Linked DNA regions of Homo sapiens: region 1 is linked to region 2. The links are contacts of gene promoters, found by promoter capture Hi-C in human tissues and cell types (Jung and others, 2019). All regions are on one chromosome and are shown on one strand. The core of a region is centred on a gene start or on the middle of the fragment in contact, and the rest is flanking DNA. Distances in the headings are between cores, read along the strand shown.

Region 1 (4,749 bases), core at 1,157-3,656, 300 kb after region 2:
TTATCCTTCTTTGTTGATAATTCCTTGTTTTCCCATCTTGATTCCCAATCTGAAATACATCAAAAAAGCAAAGCACTGTTTTGTTTTTTTTTAACTATTTGAAAAGAAACTTCTAAATTGGAATTAGGAGAACTGGATTAGAAATGAAGCCCCCAGAAAACACATAGTTCTGACAACTGAAATATTTCAATGATTTCTGAACAGTGCTCAAATGGAGCAGAGAATACAGAGTTCACAGAAGTGGGAACACAGTGTGATAATGGAAATGGGAAAAATATATGTAATGGATGAAATAGTATGGAAAAAAAGGAAGTTATCAGAAATAAAATGTGGAAGGCATTCTGGATTCCAAGCCATCATTTTGTGCCTATATGCATGTATGAAAGATTGCATTTTGTCTCATAGCCTTTTTCTCCAACATTCAATTAATCTCAATTTGCTGCCAGATTAACATGCTTAAAATACAGAATTGATGTTATTAAACAGTTGCAGTAAAAACACAATAATCTAAATGCTCTTTATAGCTGACAAAGATTTAGGCTTTCTGAAGTTATGAAGAAACTGTGTGAATCATGTCATTTATTGGACATTAGAAAATATTCCTAGAAACATATTTATATATGTTCATTTTTTCCTCTAATATGTTCATATTTCATCTACAACGCTCAGCTTTAGAAAAGTGATTTCCCATCTAATTGACAGCTTTTCTTAGCCTAAAACTATCAGTATGTTTTTCTTTAAGTAGATTTAAGAAAGAATAATTTGCCTTACTGTTATGAATAGAGTAACAATTGAATTATTATGAAGGCAAAAACCTCTAACCTTGATTGGATGACATGAGTGATACAGATAATAATTTGGGATAGAGGAACAATTGTTTTGAAAATCTAAGCTAAATATCCCACAATTTTTCATTTCTATCTGAGATCTTTGAAAACAGTATACCTAAAATGCCTCCACACTCACTATAAACTCACTATAAAGAGTTTGGGACCCTTTTTAACAAAATCTTCCTTTGTCTCGTTCACCATGACTCACCTGGAATCATACCTTTTGACAGTTTTTTCTCCATCATCCAGGGCTCTTTTCCATCCTCCAATAACGTGATCACATATGGCTTAGTTACAGAAAGACCTGCTTACAGGAAGAATACAGAATTGTTTAAGCCGTGGTCCTCTATTATGAGAGGCCATCACAAGAGGGACCACAGGAAGGGATGAAGGGTATTCATCGAAATGGAAAGATAAGCTTCAGGCAGGGCACAACAGAGCTGCACATTTCCTTGGGAACATGCTACAGAAATTCAGCCATTTACTTAGGAGGGTCTCCAGCAATTCAGGGTGGCAAAAGAAAGGTGTCCCCTACTGGAGTGGAAGGGGTAATATCCTTACCTACAGAGACCAGGTTCTCATAATTCTGGACCATCACATCCTTGTATAAGTCCCTCTGAGCAGAACTGAGCCATCCCCACTCTTCATGAGTGAAGTCTATAGCCACATCATTAAATGTCACCTGAAATAGCAAACATATTTAGGCTCAGCCATAGCCCAGGCCTCTTCTGTCACTGAAGAAAGGGTAAAATTAGCCTGGTTGTGGGAGAAATGGAACAAGATTCAGGAGTTGTGGCAATGATTGGGAATGTGATCTCAGTTAAGTAATAATAGGACAGTTATGTAGTTGGAATTACTATACAATAAGGGGGACAGTTATGTGCTTAGAATTATTATACAATAAAGGTGAGAAACAAATATGAGAGCTTTGCTTCAGTAGAGTTAATTTTGCTAAAAGTTACAGAAATACATGAATTTTTAAAAATCAGCATTTGACATTTGACAGCACAGAGTCAAGTATTTAGTTATATCTTTTACAGCTTAACTGCTAGGTAAGTAATTAAAAAATGAGGGTAAAGTGATTGTCTCTCAAATGGGATACTCAGGATGATCCACTAAGGCTCACAAAAAATGGGCAGCTGGGTGTGGTGGCTCACACCTGTAATCCCAACTACTTGGGAGGCTGAGGCAGGAGAATGGCTTGAACCCAAGAGGCGGAGGTTGCGCCACTGCACTCCAGCCTGGGTAATAGAACAAGACTCTGTCTCAAAAAAAAAAACAAAAACAAAAAAAAAACCTTTATATTAAAGACTAATAGACATACACTGTTATGGTTTGATTGTGACCCCCAAAACGCGTGTATTGAACTTAATCGCCGCTGTAACAGTTTTGAGAGGTGAGACCTTAGGAGATGATTAGGCCTTGAGGGCTCTGCCCTCATGAATGGATTAATGTCATCATCATTAGGAGTGACTTCCTTATTTAAAAAATGAGTTTGGGCCCCTTTTTGGTTCTCTCTCTTCTCTTCGCCCTTCCACCATAAAAGGACACAGCAAGAAGGCCCTTGCTGGATGCCTGCCCCTTGATCTTGGACTTCCCAGGCTCCAAAACCATGAGAAGTCAATTTCTATTACTCAGTCTGTGGTATTCTGTTATAGCAGCACCAATGGACTAAAATATACACATAACTGATTCATAAACAAAAAAGAAAAATATATTTATGGTGTATACTTAAACTTTGTACTGATAGACAATTATTAAAATATGAGACCCCTGGGTGAAAAGACTGAAGGATGGTTTCATGCCATAGATCAGGGGTCCCTAATCCCCTGATGGTTAGGGGTACATAACCACTGGTACCAGTCTGTGGCCTGTTAGAAATCAGGCCACAGAGCAGGAGATGAGTGGCAGGCAAATGACTTTTATCACCTGAGCCCTGCCTCCTGTCAGATCAGCTATGGCATTAGACTCTCATAGGAGCGCAATCCCTACTGTGAAGTGCGCATGCAAGGGATTAAGGTTGCACGCCCCTTATGTGAATTGAACTAATGCCTGATGATCTGAGGTGAAACAGTTTCACCCCCAAACCACCACCTCCTGCTTCTGTGGAAAAACTGTCTTCCACAAAACCGATCCCTGGTGCCAAAAAGGTTGGGCACCACTGCCTTAGATAGTCCTTAAATAAGACCTGAAAGTAAAGGGAAAAAAATAAAGGGGTACGTTTCAAAGAAAATAAGGAAATGTTCACAGATGTGGCTTAGAAATTCCTTTCAATAGTACTCATTTCACAATATTACTTTTTAGTAAAACTTTGGAAGCTTAAATATTCAATAATAGTTTATTGGCTAGTCAAATTATAATATGTACAAAAAATACATCTATTTAATACAGCATTATTACTGTCTTTGATTTGTGAAACAGACTGCTTGCCTGTGGTAATTTTTTAGCTCTGAGAGTTAATTCAGCATTGTATTACATTATTTGGATATTTTGCATGCATGTTCACCAGTGATACTCGTCTTTGGTTTTAAAGGCAGAATTTATTTTTGCCAGGTGTTGGGAAAATAATTAAAATTCAAATCTCCTGCCAATGGCAGAAAATCCTCTCCACAAATGTAGAAAAAAAGAACACAGTTTTATTACTTAATAATCACTAAATCAACTGTGATGCACTTCACAGGCAATCCACTAATGAGATTAAAAGGACAGGAAGAAATCTCTTTTTTATAGCCAAGCAGATACAATCCAATACATACATTTTCCAAATAATCAAGTAAGACCTTACAGTTCAATTTGCTACACATAATTTATCCTAAATTCACCTGTTAATTGGAGTTGCCACTGTGTTAGTTAATTCCCTTTATCCCAAATCAAAAAAACATTTCTCATAGCTTTATGATGAACAGGTTATTACAAGTTAGAGCCAGGGATGCTTCCTTCTTCCCCTTCAGTTGTCTGGGCAGCCTGGGGTGTTCACTCATCTCTGTCCCCAAAAGAACATAGCCTATCTGTCCTGGCATTTATTTTAATTTCTTATGCTTTCTTACTTTTCTACCAGTGCTGCAATCCTCAATACAGTAGCCACTAGGCAATTTGGCTACATACATTTAAATTAATTAAAATGTAAAAATAAAATAAGTAAAGTTTAAAATTCAGTTTCTCAGTTGCTTAAGCCACAGTTCAAGTACTCAATAGTCATACAGGGCTGGTGGCTACTGTACTGACCAGTACACATGCAGAGCACTTCCACCACTGCAGAAAGTTCTCTTAGACAATACTGCACTAGATCATGAAGTCCTGTGTGTCAGTGTACACCAAAATCCATGTACAACTTTTCCTAACAGATACTTCCTAAGTGTTTAGAAGATGAACCAATGAATGATTTTGGCATTAGTTCACTTTAGCTGTTACTTTTTTCTTGCTCTGCCGCCAGGCTGGAGTGCAGTGACATAATCATAGCTCACTGCAGCCGCACACCACAGGGTTCAAGAAATTTTCTCAACTCATCACCCTCCCGAATAGCTGGAAAAACAGGCATGTACCACCACACCAGTTTTTCAATTCTAATTATCTAACTTCTCCAAGAAAACAGACTTCACCCAACATGTACATCTGCTACTCACATCCCCTCCTATGCAAGCTTCACCTTCCATGCCATGATTCTGCCCCACCAGTTCGTCATTACTCATCTTATTCACTCCACAATTACTTACTAAGCATCTATTTGGTGCCAGGTAACCCTCTGGGTACTGAAGCTATAACAGACAACAAAAAAGAAAAAAGATTCCTCCCACCAGGAACAGACAATGAGCATGTGCATATACTGAACATACAGTACATCAGCTAGTGAGTGACACACACTGTGGAAAACAACAAAGCAGTGATGGAGGAGTGGAAGTGCTAGGCGAGGGAAGGTGAC
Region 2 (4,666 bases), core at 2,167-4,666:
CTGCAGTCCTTTAAATACCTTTTAAATACCTTTCCCTGGGACCTCCTAGTCCCTTTGCCCCTACCAGGTCCCAGAATGTCTCCCCAATGTCTCCCCAAGTATATTCTTCCTCCCGGTCCTGTCTCAGAGGCCCTCACTCCTAGGACCATCCCCATCTGCATAACATTCCCCTCCCCCGACAGCCTGCCAATCCTCCTGAGTGACTCTCCTTCCCCCGTTTCCTTCTTTCTCTCCATCTGCACCTTGCTCCGGCCCCATCCAACCGCTGGGCTCAGTCTCCCTTCTAGCGCACCCTCCACACGGAGGCTTGGGGAACCTACTGAGACACCAAATCCAACCTGTCCCCTCTTTACCTATAGAACCCTCTGTGACTCCCTAGTACCCCCCAGACAGCTTAAGTCCCTCAGCCTGGCATTTCCAGCCCCACTAGGGTATAAGCATGGCTTTCAGAGATTTGGGAGTATGTTTCCCCCAATTCTCAGACAACCATGTGGGTCACTATCAGGTACCAGAGAGAGCTTCCAAAAAGCAACCCAAACAGTAGAACTTGTAAAATACAAGTTAGACAAGAGAAGCAGGGACTAACCACTGGCGCCACCTTGTGGAGAGACCTGGTACTGCAAGGAATTGGCCAGCTCTTCCCCAAAACAGTCCCACCCCTGCCTGGTCCAGCTTGCACACCTCTTCTCCCACCCAGCTCAACTTCCAGCTTCACCTCCAGAAATACCACAATTGGCTACGTGCACACCAGTGCTGTGTCACCTCCCAGCTTCCCAGAGAAGAGCAAGAGCCTTGCTCTTCCCTCTGCCTGGCATCCTTGGAATTGCAACTCCAGTATCACCTCCTCCAATTCCAAGTTTCCAGGCAGCACCAAGAAGCCAGCAGCAATAACAGTGACACCAACAACAGCAGCCGCTGCAGCCACAACGGCTCTCTGAATCACACACGGACGCACCGCCCTACCCTAACCCCGTCCAGTCCTGCACAGCATCCTTACTTAAATCCTTGCAGCTGTTCACGAGGAAGGCGCCATTGCCATCACCCCCAGTTTACAGATGAGAAAAGGAGGCCCAAAGTCCGGCAGCCACCAAACCCGGGTCACCCGGCAAGTAAGTGCAGAATCGGAACCCTTCAGCATCTGTGTCCAGGTTCGACCTCCACACCCCTAGCCCTGACAGCAGGACTCCCCTCCAAGACCAGCCCGGAGCTGCCAGGGAGGCACCAGAGCCCACTTTGTGTCTGTTTCTCTTTGTACCCAGGCCATCTCTGTCCATTCGGGCATTTTCTGCTTTTCTTCCCTGGCTCATTCACCCATGGGCCCAAGCCCTGGGGCTGTCCTTCCGGCAGCTCCAGGAAAGAGATTGTCCCCAAGGAGCTGGATTCTGTCATCCACCTGCTCGGCTAGGGTGCAATGCCTTCTCCTGAGTAACTGGGAGCCTGGGTTCCCTCTGGACTGCAGCTGATTGGTTTGGGGTCTGAATTGCCAGCTGTGCCGAGACCCGAGGAGGCCAGAGATCTGAACTAATCATTTCAGCCAACACGCTCAGTGCTTCCTGCCCATCCTGGCATTTCAGGCCTCGCCCCACGCTGTTGGACATGCACTGTCACCCTCTCCATTTCACAGATGAGAGAATGGAGGCCCAGGGAGAACACGCCGTCTGCCCAGGGCCACACAGCTAGAAAGTGCTACTGCCCAGGACTGAGCCCGGCTATCCTGGTTGCGGAAGAAGAGAGGGAGTCAGCCCCAGCTAGGGGAAGGCAGAAAGAACAGGACGCCCCTCCATGCGCCCCTCCAGCTGGGTCCCATGTGTGAGAGGTAGAAAGGAAGCCAGGCTAGCTGGGGGCTGCCCAGAGACTCCCAAGGGCCAGCAACTCCATGACGCAGTCTCTCTCTCTCATCCTTATGGTGGTTTCTCTGCCGTCTCTCCCCTCTCCATCCATCCAGGCCCAGTCCAAAGTCCTCCCTCTGCTCTTTTGCCCACAGAGCCAGGAGGTGGAGGAATGTCTGGGATCGGTGGGGGTCCTGGGTCTCTGGGACTCCGAGTTTGCCAACCTCTGTCATGACAGCTCTGCTTGATGGCATGCGTCTTATATGCAGAGCCCCAGACCAGTGCCTGGTGTGTGTCATGCACTCAGCAACCTCACAGAGGGAGGACTGGTATCCATGCTTGACCCAGAGGGAGACCAAAGCCCTAAGAATAATGTCACTTGCACCAGATCACACAGCAAAAAAGATGGCAAGAGCAAATTCAAATGCAAGCCTGTGTGTTTCACTCCAAATCTGTGTCCTTAACCATGACAGCTACAGCTTCCCCGCCTCAGCCCCAGCAGAGGACAAGTCCAGAGTTAGCTGAGAAATCACTGGGGGATGAGGGGAAACTGAGGCAGCACGCCAGGAAGGTCACATAGGGTAGAAGGGAGGCTGGTGGTGGCACAGCTGCACAGAAAATGTGGTTAATAGTTAATCAGGTGGAGGAGGACTAACAGGGGTGGGGATGCATCTGGGAGGGGTGCCCAGAGAGAGGGGGCTCCGAAGAGTAGAGGGTAGAGAAAAGAGCACAGAGGGCGGGGCGCCAGGCAGAGCCAAAGCTGGGGCTCAGGGAAGGGGACTCACCCTCCTTCTGCGCCATGTCACTGCCTCTTGTTAATGATTCCCTGGCTGACCTCCTGGGCCAGGGTGGGACCTGTGAGGAGATGGACGGGGAGGCAGGGCCTGGGGGAGCCCAGCCCAGCCCAGTCCTGGCGCCCCCAGTCCCAGGCGTCCATCCAGGCAGGCTGTAGGGACTGGGCCTTGGCCAGAGCACGCCGTGATCACGGACGCAGATTGGGCTGGGTTCAAGGATGGGGTCAGTGTCTGACCAGCAGCGGGGGGACGCCTGGATTTGCAGGGATGGGGACCCCCATGCCTGAGCCTGGTGGAGCAGGGGACTGAGGATCCCGGTTTGAGGGAGGAGACAGCTGAGGACCTGAAATCATAAGTCTTGGGAAAGGAGGAATTTGGGGGCCAGGACTCCCTAGTATGAGGGAGGAGGGGCCTGAGGGCTGGAACTCCTGGGTCTGGGGAGGAAAGGACTGGGGTCCAACGGCTGAGTCTGAAGGAAGAGCAGGACAGAACACCTAGGTGCTTGGGGGGACGTCATAGTGCCCCCTCTTCAGGTCCCCAGGAACCCCTCTATTAGGAGGTGGGCATTAGGCTGGGTGGGGGGATGAGGGAACCCCTGTCCTCAGGGCTGGAACTGTGAGTCTGGGGGCCCTTGTCCTTACCCTGGGGTCCAGCAGGTGGGGGCGGAGCCTCGAGGTAGTGCCGGGGTCGGGTCAGTCTCCAGGCCTGGGCAGGAGCATGGTGGCCCCGCAGCAGCGGGCGGCCTGGAGGCAGAGGCGGTGGCGTGGGGCCTGCTAGGCCAGGCTGCCTCACCTGAGGAGGAGGGGGCTGGGCGAGGGGCGGGTGAAGGGGCGGGGAGGGGCCGGACCATTCGATTGGCAGCACTGGAGGCCACCTGGCTGATGGGGCCGGGCTTGTGGGGGCTGGACCAGGCGGGCCCAGCTACGGGGCTTGCCTTGGACCTCCAGGGGGACCCAGGTGTGCCTGTCTGCGGGGATGTGGGAACAGGGACAGGCCTGGCCGGAGGCTGGGGGTTTAGGGAGAAAGTGCAGGCTGAAGGGTGGGGGTCTGACCAGAAGAGATCAGATGGAGGGCCCCAGCTGCCCTAAGCCCACTCCACCCTCACCCAGCGAACCCTTCCCCCCGCCCTTTCTGCGTCCTCCAGCCCCAGGTCCTGGCTGTGCCCGCCACTTGCTGCACCTCTGCCTAATTCCCTGCCCAATTCCTGGGCCCCAACCCCAGCCCCAGCCTCTCCCGCCTGCCCTGCTCATCCTGCCCCGGCCCCTCCCCCGCTGGCTTCCTACAAGTCACGGGGCTGGTTTGCTTTGGCAGCCTCCGCCCGGCCGCGGTGACCTCTGGAGCCAGAAAGTCCTAGCACTAGATAGGGGGGATGGGGGGCTTGGCCGGGAAAACACAGCGCTAAGGGCAGAGGCCCAGGCCAAGTGGCCGGAAGCGTCCGCAGGCAGATAACACACTGTCCCGCCAGCAGCCAGGCGCGGCCCACGTCAGACCCAGGGCCAGGTAAACACCAGACGTGCAGGGTCACCGCCAGACACCTGCCCGTGCTCAACCACACGCCGGACACAGTCGGCCTCGGCTGCTTGCCCCAGATAGGCCACCCGCACAACCGGCCCCACCCGCTTACCCACACGTGCCCGCTGTGCCCAGCCAAACCCACCTCCACCGCACCCATTTCCTCCACTCAGCCCAGGGCCCCTCATTGGGACACGCTGGTTTAGCCTGGCTTCCTCTGCCTTTCCATCCATACCCGTCTCTCCTTCCCTCTCCTTCTCCCCAGCGCCCACCTCTCCAGAGACTCACACTGCTGGGCACACCACACACCCCATGCCACCCCTGCACCCCAGCATCAGCCTCGATTCTCTTCCCTCCACGGCACCCCCTCCCTTCCTGGCTCCGTTCCACTCTCCCTCACCCCTGAGCCCATGGCTCCCCCAACCCCGACACAGATCAGGCACTAAGTGGCTTCACCTGTGGGCCCTCAGGTAGGGTCCCTGGAAAGCGGGCTCGAAGATTCGGGGACGGGAATGGGGGGAAGGTGACGGG

Evidence for each region. The method cuts DNA at HindIII sites, captures the fragments that hold promoters and counts their contacts. A contact is called where the count stands out against the background at its distance.
Region 1: a fragment that was not itself captured here is called in contact with the fragment with the promoter of HPN in region 2 in 1 of the 25 tissues and cell types used here (pancreas).

The regions. Positions count from the first base shown.
Region 1 is chr19:34,735,911-34,740,659 of GRCh38, reverse strand. ZNF181 (zinc finger protein 181) reads right to left here. Exons shown (of 4, transcript NM_001029997.4): 2 at 1,392-1,512; 3 at 1,039-1,137; 4 at 1-49. Among named protein-coding and RNA genes, the nearest start is that of ZNF181, 4.0 kb to the right of the region's middle. The HindIII fragment of the contact is 4,437 bases long and covers 188-4,624 here.
Region 2 is chr19:35,040,471-35,045,136 of GRCh38, reverse strand. HPN (hepsin) reads right to left here and starts at 3,416. Exons shown (of 13, transcript NM_001384133.1): 1 at 3,265-3,416; 2 at 2,615-2,684. The coding sequence starts at 2,630. RefSeq lists an enhancer at 3,945-4,666. The HindIII fragment of the contact is 10,578 bases long and covers 1-4,666 here.